3 separate regions of the Homo sapiens genome follow, and all the other regions are linked to region 2. Evidence: promoter capture Hi-C in human tissues and cell types (Jung and others, 2019). All regions are on one chromosome and are shown on one strand. The core of a region is centred on a gene start or on the middle of the fragment in contact, and the rest is flanking DNA. Distances in the headings are between cores, read along the strand shown.

What was found. The method cuts DNA at HindIII sites, captures the fragments that hold promoters and counts their contacts. A contact is called where the count stands out against the background at its distance.
Region 1: a fragment that was not itself captured here is called in contact with the fragment with the promoter of LRBA in region 2 in 1 of the 25 tissues and cell types used here (lymphoblastoid cells).
Region 3: a contact is called between a fragment that was not itself captured here and the fragment with the promoter of LRBA in region 2, in 1 of the 25 tissues and cell types used here (dorsolateral prefrontal cortex).

What each region holds. Positions count from the first base shown.
Region 1 is chr4:152,883,912-152,887,077 of GRCh38, reverse strand. All of the region lies in intron 7 of ARFIP1 (ARF interacting protein 1), which reads right to left. Among named protein-coding and RNA genes, the nearest start is that of FHDC1, 51 kb to the left of the region's middle. The HindIII fragment of the contact is 4,299 bases long and covers 1-3,166 here.
Region 2 is chr4:151,013,802-151,017,026 of GRCh38, reverse strand. It overlaps LRBA (LPS responsive beige-like anchor protein), which reads left to right and starts at 1,743. Exons shown (of 57, transcript NM_001364905.1): 1 at 1,743-1,825; 2 at 2,166-2,600. The coding sequence starts at 2,385. RefSeq lists a silencer at 1,174-1,323 and enhancers at 875-1,472, 1,824-1,953, 2,134-2,313. The HindIII fragment of the contact is 20,752 bases long and covers 1-3,225 here.
Region 3 is chr4:152,399,010-152,402,139 of GRCh38, reverse strand. The region is part of intron 4 of FBXW7 (F-box and WD repeat domain containing 7); the gene reads left to right. Among named protein-coding and RNA genes, the nearest start is that of FBXW7-AS1, 63 kb to the right of the region's middle. The HindIII fragment of the contact is 6,303 bases long and covers 1-3,130 here.

The DNA.
Region 1 (3,166 bases), core at 120-2,619, 1.9 Mb before region 2:
CTAAAACTAAAGCTCTTTATTTGGAGATATTAGGTGTATAATTCACATCTCCTATTCTGGGAATTAACAATACTTTAAATAACATAATCTATATTGTATATATGACTTGAGAAAGAATACATCAGTCCTTCACACTGATCCTAATTTATTCTTAACTCATACTGAATTTAGCAGTATGAGTTAAGATTTAATTTAATTGGCCTCTTTCAGGGTCAAAAGAGAACCATTCATTCATTCACTGATACACTGATTCATTCAACAATTCTCAAGTGAGCACTTTCCACGTTCCAGGCACTGTGTTAGAAAGTAGAGCTATAAAGATGAACAGATATGTTTATCCTCAAGAAGCTCGCATTCTAGAGGAAGAGAACCTTGTAAACAATTACAACAAAATGAGATAATAAGAACTACCATAAATGAGGGTAAGGTATAATGGAAATCAAGAGGAATAATTATTTAATTAGATATCTGAAAAGGTATCTCAGACAGAATTAAAATACTATAATTAAAATTTGAAGGATGGTAAAAGCTGGCTAGGTGAATTGGGATACAGAAATCAGTAGGATACTCTGATTCTGAAGAGAATAGCATGGACAAAGGCATAGATTTGTAAGATACAATGACACATTTGGGAATTCGGTATGTCAGAATCTGAAGCTGGAACATGACAATGGAAGGAATTAACATTAGACAGGCAGGCAGGATTGAAAGTAAGCAGCCCTACAGGCCATGTTAAAGTGTTTAAATTTAATCCAGTAGGAGAAGTAATGGGAAGCCACTGAAGAATGTTGATCTGACATAAAAATGACATGATTGTATCAGGATAGAAAGATGACCCTGGTGGTAGTGTAAGAGATGGAGGATAGAATAAATGATTAAAAAATCAGGAGCAAGGAAACCTATTAGAAAACGATGGACATATAAGAAATGAGTCACTGAATCAGGACAAAGGCATTGGAGCTAAGGAGACAAATACAAAAGATTTAGGAGGCAAGACTGACTTGGCAATAATAACTAGTTAGTTAAATCCATGGGTTCAGGAGCCAAGCTGAATGACCTCTCTGCCTTTTGGCTCTATTCTTGAGCTGGTTATTTCATCTCTTTGTGCTCCAGTTTTTCAATCTATAAATGTGAACAAAAATCTCCACAAAAACTTCATATAGATAAAACACACAGGATACCTGGTAATAACTGATACCTTTAGAATGCTTATTATTATGGCCAAATTAGAAGAGGGGTATCTAGAAGCAAGCACACTAAAAACAATAGGAAATAAAAGAGAAAAAAGTAGAACTAAATAAATAGTAATACATGGTGATTTAATCTAAGGACAAATATCCTTCAATAGCCTTGGAGCGCATTTCTAAACAACAGTGATTAACTCAAACATATTCAAAGTTATAATACTGACCTTATATTTCTTAATTTTACATTCAGAGTTTGTAGGTGGTACCAAAGTAAAACTTTCCATAATAGCTTCTCTAACAGTGCTCATTACCACCAAGAAGAGAAGCTCACTAAGTTTTCAAAAAGCAACTTCACTTCAAGGTTGCCCGTCTGAACTGAGTCCGTATCAACAAAGTTAGTGACGGTTACTTTATGGCTTATGTAAAACTTCTAGAGAACAGGTGTCCACATCTGAAAAGTCTCGACCACAATTGACTCCCTTGTTGGTGCTGCTGTGGAGAAGTGTTGAATGGGCTGTTACAAGATTTTCTATACATGAAGCACCAGAGGGCTAGGAAATACTTGTACACAATGCATAATAGGGAGGATTAAAAGGCCACTCGGGCATTTGCCTAAATTACCACTTTTTGCACTGATCAAATAGATGACCCTTGCCCTAAAAGTCAGTAAATTCTGGCTTTGACAGAGAAGGAAATTCAGCTACTGAAAAACTTTTAACCTTGGATTCTTTTTGACTATTATCCATCAGTAGGCAAGGTTTTAGTGTTAACAACTAGCCAATTCCACAGCTATTTCATAAACAACAGAAAAGTCAAACCCCAAGCTAAGCTTAATGAATAAGATCATACATTGTAATTTGAATAAAAAAGGATAAATTACGGGATGACATAAAACAAAAACAACATTACTGTTGTTGTTTTTTAAAGTACACACAGAGGCTGTGTAAGGGTTTCCCTTAAGAAACCAGCCACCAAGTACATGTAACTTGATTTATAATTTTGTTCAAAAGTTCCAAATGAACCTATATACTGTATTTTATAATCTGAGATCTTATACCACATTATACTTAGGGCACTAATACTCAGGTATAAGGCCTACTGATAAAATGTGAACCATAGAGAACCAATGGGTTCTTATTTTGCCTTTGAAATTGACTACAAGTGAGCAAACCATTTAACCTCTAGAGTGTTTTCTCCTCTACAAATTAATTATAAACTGTTTAGAAATAAAAGCTGAAGGGAAAGAGATTATTATTAACGAAAATATATTTCAGGATAGGTAGACAATTGCAAAGTAGAGAAACTAGATTCACAAAGTTCTCAACTAGGAGGTGGTGGGGGTATTTTTGGAAGAAAACAATATCCATCTTTAAAACCCATACATGTTAAAACAATCAGAAGGACTAGAAAATATGAATATTTAAAATGATTAGAGATAAAAGAAACAGTACCATTATGAACAAATTAGGACATTATGAACAAGGAACAGAAAAATTTAGAAAAGGATCAAGTAAAACTTATATAAATGAATTTTAAAATTCATATACATAATGAACCCTTTGAAAAATATAATTTCCATGAAAGGATTTACACTGAGACTGAAACACCAATTACTGAGAATGTTATTGAAGAGATTTCCACGGAAGGCTATCTTACTAACAGCTATCCTCACCCTTACCCCTCCATACAACCACAGCTGTTTGACCTTCATTTTCAAGTCAATAAGAATCTCATACTTTAATACTAAATGGAAAATGACAAAATAAACATGGTATGGGACAGAAGCATCTCTTCCTGTGAAAACATCAAAAATTAACTTTTCAAAATGATTTGGGCTTTTACTTAATTGAAGTGTAAGGAAATATATATTTAATAAGCACTCAATTGCAAAAATACTAGATGAGTTTGGAGTTTTTTACAGGTATTTCTCATACCATTAAACTAGGATAAGAGGCCAAAGAGTAAAGTTATCCTTCTAA
Region 2 (3,225 bases), core at 494-2,993:
AGCCTCCCGAGTAGCTGGGATTACAGGCGCCTACCACCATGCCTGGCTAATTTTTGTATTTTTAGTAGAGACGGGGGTTTCACCATATTGGTCAGGCTGGTCTTGAACTCCTGACCTCAGGCAATCCATCTGCTTGGGCCTCCCAAAGTGCTGGGATTACAGGCGTGAGCCACCGCGCCCGGCTTCTGTCCACTTCTCAAGGCCATCTCAAATAACTTTTTCTTCAGGAAACTATTTCTCAAACCACTATAATTTTTTCCTAAGTTCTCTAGAATTCTTCCTTTGTTTAATCCCACTTTTTGCTTCACTTTCATTTTAGGAGCTAGGCGTATTTTTAAAAAGGCCCTTTGACCTCAAAGGATACACGTGGGTGAAAAACCACCTTCCTCTAAATTTATTTTTCACTCACTAGGAAGAATGGTTTACTGTTAATAGCGGGTGGAAAGAAGGGACACTGAGTATGAGGACCTATCTGTACTACCTAATATAATTTATCTTTTGATCTACTCTGAGAATGACGCGAGCCTAATCTTCACATTGGAAAATCACGAGAGGAAAAAACCCTTCGGAGGTCTACAGGCACAAGGAACCCTGTCTCCACGCTGTTTATAGCAGCTGTCTCAGGAATCCTCTGCCTAGAATGAATGTGGGAGAGGTTTCGTGGCGCGGCAGCTGCAAAGCAAGGAATCTTTCCCATTCCTCGTCGACTCGGTCCCCTCCCCTCCCCTCCCGAATGGCGGCAGCTGCCGAGGTATCCCAGTGGAAATCTCCAAGTCTCCGCCGAGAGCGGCGGGCGGGCAACAGCTGAAAGCAGCCAGGGGTGGGGACTCCTCGCTCCCATTGGGCAGGGACAGCAGCCTCACTGGCTCCAGCGCCGTCACCTCTCTGGCTCGTAGAGGTGCCTCAGGTGTTCTTCTCCAAGTCCAATGAGACACCTAGGCAACGCAGCGCGTGTTCCCTCCGCGCCAAGAGACCCTACGGTAACTTAACAACAGCAGGAGCGCCAAAATCCCCGCCTCAGGACTTGGCAGAAGCACCTCCCGAGGTCCGAGAGTGGGAGAGGGGAAAGTGTAGGCCCTCGGACGGAAGGGTCTCTCCTCGCCGGGCCGGGTACACACCTGGTGCTACCAGAGCAGCGCGCCTAGTGCAGCCGGAAGCCCCAGCCCAGCACTCCGGCTGGCTCGGGGCCCCCTTGGCTGTCCGCGCGTCGTCACCGCGCCCCCGCCGCGCGGCTGCCTCCGCCTTCGCGCCCTCCCGCCCCGCGCACTCGCGCTCGCGCACGCGCACGCCGCGCCCGGCAGCACTCGGCGCTGTCATGGCGGCCGGGAGCAGCTTCAGTGGGCACACGACAGCCGCGCGACCCGTGGCGGGGCGAGCTGTGGCAGTAGCATCCTCACCACTCGCAGCAGCCTCAGCCGCGGCGCCCGTAGCGCCAGCAGCGGCTGCTTTTGCAAAGGCTGAGCGCAGGGGCGGGGCGGGCCAGGAAGCCATGGAGTTCTGTGCAGCCGCGGACTCCCGGGGAGCGGACTAGGGAAACTTGGAGGCTGCGACCAGGTGCACTGACCTCTCTGTCCTCCCTTCTCTCCCTGCGGTGGCCGCTGGGTTTCTCTGGCCGCTCCCCTCCCTTCCTGCCACCACACACACCTCCCCACCCCTTCCCGTCGAATCTCAGGTGCCTGAGAGAGGTGCTTCACTCCTCCCACTGGGCCGAGCATTTAGAATAATCACCGCCCCCTTCCCCCGCCTTTTCCTGCCCTGGATCTCCGCCGCCACCTCGGTCTCGCTGCTCCTGGGCGGGGGGTGAGGACGAGTCCGGAGTATCTGGGTGAGGAAGAACTTTCTACCTCTGTGATAGCTTGTGGGCCCCCCTTCTTTCCTCCGATCCCTCCTTTCCCCGCGACAGTTTCTCTTTCTAGTGCACCTGTGAGGAGAGGTTACCCTGCGCCTAGAACCTGCACGAGAGTGGGGGAGGAGTGAGCCTGTTCGGGGGCCTCTTGGACCTGCCTTCACCCAGAACCCAGCTTTTTGAGCCCGGGAGAAGCGGGTGGCTAGTAGTGGGGTGCCTTTAGTAACTTACTTGACCGACAATAACTATTTCCCTCTTGTCCCCTCAAAACCCTAAAACAAAACCTAGCCTATTTAACATATATTTAATCTTCCAATAGGGTTTGGCGTTGTTGTCAGCCTCGGGGAGAGAGATTGGACAAATATTCTCCAAGAGGAGGAGGGCGACGCCAAGGACTTTCCACATCAACTGCTTTGGGGTATCTCCACAAGTTGGAAGAGGGACCCTTTCGTTTTGCATTGCGTGTGTTGTGCTCATTACCAGTGCAGCGACTGCCGTCCCAGGGTGACTCTGAGTTGTCCTTTATCGTGAGCTAGCAATGGCTAGCGAAGACAATCGTGTCCCTTCCCCGCCACCAACAGGTGATGACGGGGGAGGTGGAGGGAGAGAAGAAACCCCTACTGAAGGGGGTGCATTGTCTCTGAAACCAGGGCTCCCCATCAGGGGCATCAGAATGAAATTTGCCGTGTTGACCGGTTTGGTTGAAGTTGGAGAAGTATCCAATAGGGATATTGTAGAAACTGTCTTTAACCTGGTAAGTCCATGAATATTTTATAAGCATATACTCTTTTCAGTGGGTTGGGGAACAAGATCTTAAAGCTGGAGCCATGTGGTTTACTCACACTGATGGTGACTTTTTTCGTGTATAGGGACACAAAATTCTACTCACCTAAATGAAACAATTTCATCTGTTTTTTAGATTGAAGGGAATTGTGCAAACTTAGATGATCCAGGTTTTGTGAAAGTGAACACATCACTTTTGTGCTAAGGAAATAATTGTTGCTATGGAAGTATTGGGGGGAGGTTCTAGCGGAGGAGTTATCTCTAATTTTTTTTTTCTTGGCTTGTATGCCTAAGTCTGCGTTTCCCTTTACCACTTTAAATAATTTCTTGTGACCTTTTTTTGGACTTGAGAATTAATGTCTTTGATTCTGTCGAAGTTATGTTTTGCTACAATAAGTTTAAAAATTTGTTTGTAGTGCTGATGCAAGATTAATTTGCTGCAAAGTTAGTATTTTTAATTTTGACTAGTTTTATTTTTAGACATAACTAACAAAAGTTAAATTGGTGATGAATTTAGGATTGCATTTAAAGTAATCTTGTGAAAATTGAATGGCAATATGAAAAAAGGAATTGAAGCAGATACAGTATAATTTTTA
Region 3 (3,130 bases), core at 494-2,993, 1.4 Mb before region 2:
TTATTATTATTTGGTAACCTGTTTGAACAGTTGACTTGTTCAGCCCCTCAAAGGGAATTTCCCCCACTCCCCTCTGCTTCACTGAAACATGACCCATTAACATGAATTATTTCTACATTCCTTCACCTAGTATTTCATATGTATCTTTTTTCTTCTATCCCTCCAATCTGGTAAGAAGAAATACACTTGTCCTTTACAAGGAAACCTTGTCTTTGAATTATTGATCCTTGAGGTCTGCGAAATGTTTTTTGGAGACTTCCTGCATTAGCCATTCTGTCTTTTTAAATTAACAAGCTTTAATTTTTAGATTAGTTTTAGATTCACAGCAAAGTTGAATGAGAGGCCTAGAGAGTTCCCATATGCCCCCTGGTGCACACATGTACAGCTTCACCCTTACCAGAGTAGTACATTTGTTATAGTCAGTGAATCTACCTTTGTCATATCATTATCCAGAATCCATAGTTTCCACCAAGGTCTCACTCTTGGTGTTGTGCACTCTGTGGGTGTGGGCAAATGTGTATTGACACGCATCTACCAATGTAGTACCATAGAGAATGGTTTCACTACCTTAAAAGTCCTGTGTTCTGCCTATTCATCCCTTTCTTCCCCAGCCTCTCATCGCCACTGATCCTTTCACCGTCTCCATAGTTTTGCTTTTTCCAGAATGTCATATAGTTGGAATTATACAGTATGTAGCCTTTCAGATTGGCTTCTTTCACTTACGTAATATGCATTGACTTTTCCTTCATGTATATTTATAGCTTGATAGCTCATTTCCTTCTAGCACTGAATAATATTCCATTGTTTGGATATACCACAGTTTATCCACTTCCCTAGTGAAAGACATCTTGGTTGCTTCCACATAATTGGCAATTATGAATATAGCTGCTTGTGAAAATCTGTGTGCAGGATTTTGCATGGACTAAGTTTTTAACTCCTTTGCGTAAATGCCAAGGAGTGTGATTCCAGGATTGCAAGTTAACAGTATGATTAATTTTGTAAGAAACTGCCAAATGGCTTCCAAAGTGTCTATATACTTTTGCATTCCCACCAACAGTGAATGAGAGTTCCTGTGGCTCCACATCTTCAGTGGCATATAGTGTTGTCAGTGTTCTGGATTTTGACCATTCTGATAGGTGTGTATGGTATCTCTTTGTTACCATTTGAAGTTCCCTAGTGATATATGATGTTGACCATCTTTTCCTGTGCTTACTTCCCATCTGTAAATCTCCTTTGGTGAGGTGTCTGTCCAGATCTTTTGTCCATGTTTTAGTCAGGTTGTTCTGTTACTGTTGTATATTTTGGATAACAATCGTTTATCCCATGTGCATTTTGCAAATACTTTCTTCCAGTCTGTGGCTTATGTTCTTATTTTCCTGACAGTGTCTTTCAGAGAGCTGACATTCCTATTTTAGTAGAGTCCAGCTTATGAATTATTTCTTTCATGTATCATGCTGTTAGTATTGTATTGTTGTATCTAAAATGTCATTTCCGGCTGGGTGCCATGGCTCACACCTATAATCCCAGCACTTTGGCAGGCTGAGGTGGGAGGATCGCTTGAGCCCAGGAGTTTGAGACCAGCCTGGGCAACATACTGAGACCTCCTCCTTAAAAAAAAAAAATGCACAAAATTAGCCAGGCATGGTGGTGCGTTCCTGTGATCTTAGCAACCCGAGAGGCTGAGGTTGGAGGATTGCTTGAGCCTGGGACATCAAGGATGTGGTGAGCCAAGATCATACCACTCTACCCCAGCAAAAAGTCATGTCTATACCCAAGGCCATTTAGGTTTTCTCTTATGTTATCTTCTAAGAGTTTTATAGTTCTGCACTTTACATTTATGTCTATGATCCATTTTGAGTTAATTTTGTGAAGGTTGTAAGGCCTTTGTTTAGATTCATTTATTTGCATGTGGATGTTCGGTGGTTCAGCACCATTTGCGGAAAAGACTAGCTTTTCTACATTGTACTGCCTTTGTTCCATTGTCAAAGATCACTGTACCATATTCTGGTCTCTCTATTCTGTTCCATTCATCTACTTTTAATTCTTTCACCAATACCACACTGTCTTGGTTACTGTAGCTTTATAGTAAGCCTTGAAGTTGGAGAGTGTCTATCTCCCAGCTTCATTCCTCTCCTTCAGTATCGTTTTGGCTATTCTGGGTCTTTTGCCTCTCCATATAAGTTTTAGAATCAGTTCGTTGATATCTGTTACTTGCTGGGATTTTGATTGGTATTGCTTTGAAACTATAGATGAGATTGGCAAGGACTGACATCTTGACAGTATTGAGTCTTCCTGTGCAAGAACATGGAATATATCTCCATTTATTTAGTTCTTCTTTGATTTTTTATCAGAGTTTTATAGTTTTCATTATGTAGATCTTATACATATTTTATTAGATTCATCCCTAAATATTTTATTTCAGGGGGCTGCTAATGTAAATGATACTGTATTTGTCATTTCAGATTTCACTTTTTCATTGCTGGTGTGTAGGAAAATAATTGACTTATTATATATTAATCTTATATCTTGCAACCTTGCTATAATTGCTTTTTTTTGGTCAATTTTTTAGGATTTTCTATGTAGAGGGTCATGTCATGTGCCAAAAAAGACAGTGTTATTTCCTCTTTCTTAATCTCTTTATCTTTTACTTCCTTTTCTTGTCTTTGTGCTTTAACTAGGACTTCCCCTATGATGTTGAAAAGCAGTGGTTAAAGAGGACATTCTTGCCTTGTGTCTGATCTTAGTAGGACAGCTTTGAGTTTCCATCCTTAAGTGTGATGTTAGCTGTAGGCTTTTTATAGGTAGTCTTTATCAAGTTGAGAAAGTTCCTCCCCTCTATTCCTAGTTTGCTAAGAGTCCTTCTATCCTATTTCTTAATGGTTTAGTAGATGACTCTGTGGTACTTTGAAGGTTGTTTGCAGAATTTCCATGCCATAGGCAATTTACCTTTCCTTGACATTTGAAGGATTGATGTTGGTGCCAAGTATAGAATCTTCACAGAGTCCTCCTGTAGCTTCTAAAGGTTTAGCTTGAAAATGTTAATTGCTTAACGCTAGTAAGTGAGTGAAAAAGCTGGGGATAAATTTTGTATCTTGCTTATATTTCAGTTCCCACCTCTGTCCTGACAAAA